Linked DNA regions of Homo sapiens: region 1 is linked to region 2. Evidence: promoter capture Hi-C in 16 types of primary human blood cells and fetal thymus (Javierre and others, 2016). All regions are on one chromosome and are shown on one strand. The core of a region is centred on a gene start or on the middle of the fragment in contact, and the rest is flanking DNA. Distances in the headings are between cores, read along the strand shown. Region 1 holds the start of TMEM167B (transmembrane protein 167B). Region 2 holds the start of PSMA5 (proteasome 20S subunit alpha 5).

Region 1 (2,700 bases), core at 80-2,579, 330 kb before region 2:
CAGTCACGGAGGCCGCAGGTGCGGCTTCTTCACCCGCGGTGCTGGAGTTCTCTCAAGTGGAAGCCCAGGACGATGAAAACCTCATAGGTAGGCTGCTGCTTACACACAGCAGCCGCCACGGCGCAAAATAAACTACAAAACTACAAGCCTTTACCTTTTCAAACACACTGACGCGGGCCAGCCCCAGCCCTACGCCCGCAGGGGCACGCAGAAAAGACTTAGTTACCACGGCCAAGTACGAAGCCTTCGAGATAGCGTTCTTCTTACCCTACGTAAACACGCAGTTTCCCGAGCTCGACAATCGGCTAGCCACTCCTGATAGCGTTCGGCGCTCGCCTCTCGGCCCTTGCTCCTGCGTACTACGGCTTCTTCCAGTCACCTCGGCCCGGATCGGGAAGTGTCAAGCGGGCGCTCCCCCATCTCCGCCGCTATTACCACTGAACCCGGACCCCCTACCCAGGTCCAGGGCCAGCCGCCATGACGAACGGTGAGAACTGATGCCCTGAGCGGAGGGTGGGAGTGAAGGACGAAGGGAAAACGTGGCGGGCGGGGCCGGGACTGACGTGGCCGTTCTCCCCGCCCCCTCCCAGCCCGGCCCCCCTTGGCCTCTCGACGCCCCTAACTTCTGTACCCCTATACTCCTCTACGGGTTCCCCCTTCCCATATTCATCTAGGACCCCCAGTGCCTCTTATGCTCACACCTCGAGTTATCTATCCCTATGCTTTGCTTTCCCTTTTCTTTTTCTTAGTTCTTTCTGGCCCTTGGAGAGGTCAGTCCCAGAGGTACTACTGCTATTTAAACCCGGGGAAGAGAGAGGCTCCTCCTCCCAGCTCCCTGCGTTCTCATGCTTTCGGACCGTAGTTTTGTTGAGAGGGCCAATAAATGACATAGAATATCAAGTCCCACACTTTTGGGGTTGCTGGTGAATGTAGACCCCACAAAAGCTTCTTCTTACGGAAAAATACCGGAAAGATTTCTGATTTTAAAGTCCTGGCGGGGTGATCCCACGTGGAGACCCTGACTAGTGTTGCAAAGGGTGGATTTAGACACTGCCTCTTCTAGATGATGAGGCAGTTTATCTGACCTAATTTTCCAGGCCTCTTCAAACACTTTATGAATTCTGAATTCCAGAGGAGGACAGGAAGGAGGGCCTTCATGATTTTTAGTGTCAACCTTACAGGAAAGGAGAAGAGAAAGCCTTTTAGGCATTACGATGATTTGAGGGGCTCCGGAAAGCATTTCTCAAAAGTACTTTGTCCATAGACCTGGCACTGAAGACTCGAATTTAACCTCCTTGTGAATTTTGGCATTGTCTGCAGAAACTTATGAGAGAAAAGGGGTAGCACGTGAAGGTATAGTTCCTCAGAAAACCTTAGTGTATGTATTAATTTGCTGGACCCTTTCTTAGTGACAGCTTAGCTGTGAGACAGTTTTACTGGAGGAAGAGAGGTAGTGTGATCTAGAACTGGCAGACACTGGTTATATATAATATTCATTTGGAGCTTCCTGGGAAGTCAGAGGTCTCAGGATACTAGGCACAGTAAGAAAAGGGAATTTACCCAGAGGAAGACAGAATCTGAACCAGGAAGTAAGACAGCAGTTTGACACGGTAGTTGCTGAATAAATTTTAGTCATTCTTCCCCCATTTTGTGGTCCAATATCTTCTTGTTTTTTGCAATTAGGTGATTCATTGTGCTTCCCTGTACAAGAAATAAGCTTGGTTTATGTATTTAAGAAACAGAGCTAAGAAGTTAAAGCTTTCTATGTTGAAGCCTTAGATACTTTTTCTTTGTTTTAGAAAAATCTGTTATTATTCTGGCAGAAATTCGGTTTGTTAAGAGTATCATCCATAAAGTGTAAGATAATGATAGGAAAATTGTAGTCATGTGGATTCTTACTCTTGCAACTTTCATTAAGCTTAATTTTTTGCCTTAACATATTCTTCACCAACAGTTGCACATCTGACAGTTTTGGCTACATATCTAGCTCTCCTTTATCATATGAGTGATTTATAACAAGAACATGTTAAATTCTCTGTGCTGAGTCTCTAAGGATTCATATGTCTCAATCTATTGCCAACACTAGTCATTCCTGGGATGCTAATTTCTGCCCAGGATTTCTACTTCTTGAAAGGTGAGGGGAAGGACCAGTGACATTTTAGTAAAGGGGATGTAAAAAAAAAAATTTTTTTTTGAGTTGGGGTCTCACTCTGTTGCTCAGGCTACAGTGCAGTGGCATGATCGTAGTTCATTGCAGCCTCGAACTCCTGGGCTCAATTGATCCCCCTTCCTCCTACAAGCAATTTTTGGGAACAGTAAAATAATCGTGTTAGTCCCAGGATCCTGGCTCCCCCTTGTCAAGTGTCAGTACTGCCTGTTGAGGTTATTATTTTGTTATTATGTCACACACTATCTTCCTTAGAGTTCTCAGGCGGGATCACAGGTCCGACGCTAGATCAGTACCTAAGGTTTTCTTTTCTTCTTTATTTAACAGTGTACTCCTTGGATGGGATTCTGGTGTTTGGTTTGCTCTTTGTTTGCACCTGTGCCTACTTCAAGAAAGTACCTCGTCTCAAAACCTGGCTGCTATCAGAGAAGAAGGGTGTTTGGGGTGTGTTTTACAAAGGTGAGGCCATGTCTGGACAGGGAGAAGAGACTGCCATCTCTGGACAGTGTGGAGCTACAAAGTAGGGAGTACAG
Region 2 (2,700 bases), core at 171-2,670:
AGATCACGTCACTGCACTCCAGCCTGGGCCACAGAGCGAGACTGTCTCAAAAGAGTCTCCTATATGCGAGCAAGGAGCTTGATTTTGTCCATTGCTGTAGCACCAGCACCTAGAACAGTGCCTTGTTCACAGCAAGCACTCAAGCACATTAACTAAGAGAATAAAAAGGGATGTATTTTAGGCCGTCTTGGGAAGACAGAAAAATAAGTAACAAAGCAGTCAATACATATGTTAAGTAAATGGCCACAAAATTTAATAAATGCCTTCTGATAAGCATAACAATTTCTATCATACACACCCTAACTCAAAATTATGTCACCCGAAGATGATTCTCTTCAATGTTCTGGAAGTTAAATATCGACCAACAAAGTCACTTTATAGGACAGTGGGGAAATATGTCAAAACTTCACACACATCTTCTACGAGTCAGTAAAAAAGATGAAAAAGTGGTAACTGCAGGTGGTAAAACTTCGACAGGATCAGCATATACTTGACAGGAAATGCAGCATCTCATACCACTCAGTACAAAGAAAATGTCTGCCTTCCCTGACTTTAAAAAAGAGTAGCTATGTAAAAACTTAACTGACGAAAACAGAAACTGAAAGTAAAAATGTCTACAGCATATATATGTACAACTTAATATTGTGAACATTTTCATACCACAAAAGTTTTTTAAAACTTGCTTTAAACTTTTAAAAAGTCAGAAAAAATTTTGGTCAATTGGAATCGGCATGATGAGAAATCTCTTGAAAACCATTCTAAATTCCAGTTCCTATAAAATCAGACTCCAGACAATATATCCAGCCAAAGCTACGACTGCCTTCGCGCTTCTGAAGAAACTATACACCGCAGCATGCCCTACTACAAACCAGTTGCTTTTTCTTCCAGGAAGCACGTTTAACTTTTTGTTTGTTTGTTCAAGGCAGTCATACTAGGCACGAAAAGATGAACGGAGCAAAGAGTGACCCTTGGCCTTCTCCGGGTTCAAGGTAGGAGTTCCGGCTCCTCACGCCTTCTTTACCAAGCACCAGCCGGAGCTTCTCGCTTCCGCACCGAGTTAGGACCCAGGGGTGACTCAGCGGTAGGACAAGTGCCGCCGATGTGGTCTAGCTTGGGGAAGGACGGCGGGCGCCTGAGGAGGGCATAACATCCCCAGGTCCGGCCAGTCTCGGGTTCCTGGGGAGCCCCATGACACGGCAGAACCCAGGCCGCGCGGCCAGGTCCCGGGCCTGCCCACCCATAATTCCCACCCGACGTCCCCCAGCTGCACGGACCTGTCGTACTCAGACCGGGTAAGAAACATGGCGAGGGTAGGAGGAGGCAGCGGCTACGCGGGGATTCTGAGGACCAACACGACTCCACCGGCACCCAACTCACCGGCAGCCAACTCACCCACACGGCCGCAGTACTAAGGACCAACTGCGCGTGCGACCGCGACCTCTTTAGCCCGCCCTCCTGTGCCTGCTTCCTATTGGCTGGTAGTAGTTCCCGCCTAGGTGATTGGGCCAACGCGCTTCCTCACGAGGGCTTGGTTGGTCCGGAGGAGGAGGAGGACCAGGGAGGTACTTCCGCCTTAAATCGCGGGTGGTTGCTAGGGACGATAGGCACCCAAGGCGTGTAGTGAGTTCGCCTTGTAGAGAAGATGTGAGCCCGCCCCAAGACTGGCAATTGGAAAGGCTTGCATGCAGAGCTGGGTTGTCTGAACCCTGACATAATAGGTCCCTCGCCGGCTCCCGTAATCCCAGCTAGAGGACTTTGGTCCCGTTTCCGGCAAGGCCACCACCTGACTTCTCTTCGCAGGATTCCCTCTCTTAGGGTTCCTCCACGGTGTTCTCCATGCCCGGTCGAGGGCTCCAGGACTTTGGGCGGTAATGAGTCGGCTACAGTGGGTCTGAGCCGGCGCCGCGGACGAGTCCCTTCGTTTCAGCCAGTTTGGCTCGTTTATTGAGAAAAGTGGGGGGCGAGGGGTTAGTATGTAAGAAAGTCTTAAAGTTTCCACATGGTTAAGGTAATTTTATCAACTCTTTCTTGCACCCCTCCCCCTAGTACAGGTTTCAGACCTAAATAACCTAGAGTTCAGGATCCAGACTTCAAAATATTCACTGCTTTTTCTGTTGTTTGTGAAAAATAAGTGTTTTCTTTGAGCCCAGATCGTGCTATTGCACTCCAGCCTGGGCAACAGCCAAACCCTATCCGAAAAAAAAAAAAAAAAAAAAAGCGCTTTCTTTTTCGACGCTTCTTGCTTCCCTTCAATAAGTTGCTTGAGGAGCAACTTTGCAGCTTCGTAATAACACTGTAATTCAAGTATTTGTTCAAGAAAGGCAAGTAAGAAGTCTTGGCACGGGGGTGGGGAATATAGGGAAATGTTGGTCAAATGATACAAAGTTTCAGTCAGAGAAGGTGGATGAGTTCTATAGTTAATAATCATATATTGTGTACTTGAAATTGTGAAGAGGGTACACCTTAAATGTTCTCACCACAGGAAAGTATGTGAGATGATGGATTATGTTGATTAGCTTCATTTAATTATTTGCAGTGTGTGTGTGTATATATATGTATATCAAAACGTCACGTTGTATACCATAAACATGAACAATTTCTATTTGTCACTTACACCTTAAAGCTGGAGTCGGGGGAAAGAAATCATTTATCAGGCAGTATATGCTGGAAAGGGAAATGCCAGCATCTCATTTCCAGTTG

What was found. Contacts are between HindIII fragments. The CHiCAGO score rates a contact against its expected background, and 5 or more counts as called.
Region 1: a fragment that was not itself captured here is called in contact with the fragment with the promoter of PSMA5 in region 2 in 1 of 17 cell types (fetal thymus); the score reaches 6.0 in fetal thymus.

Annotation. Positions count from the first base shown.
Region 1 is chr1:109,090,396-109,093,095 of GRCh38, forward strand. It overlaps TMEM167B (transmembrane protein 167B), which reads left to right and starts at 369. Exons shown (of 3, transcript NM_020141.4): 1 at 369-487; 2 at 2,495-2,626. The coding sequence starts at 478. It also overlaps the pseudogene NDUFB3P1. RefSeq lists an enhancer at 3-202. The HindIII fragment of the contact is 772 bases long and covers 944-1,715 here.
Region 2 is chr1:109,425,028-109,427,727 of GRCh38, forward strand. PSMA5 (proteasome 20S subunit alpha 5) reads right to left here and starts at 1,421. Exons shown (of 9, transcript NM_002790.4): 1 at 1,275-1,421. The coding sequence starts at 1,303. RefSeq lists enhancers at 1,484-2,415, 1,922-1,981. The HindIII fragment of the contact is 5,034 bases long and covers 1-2,700 here.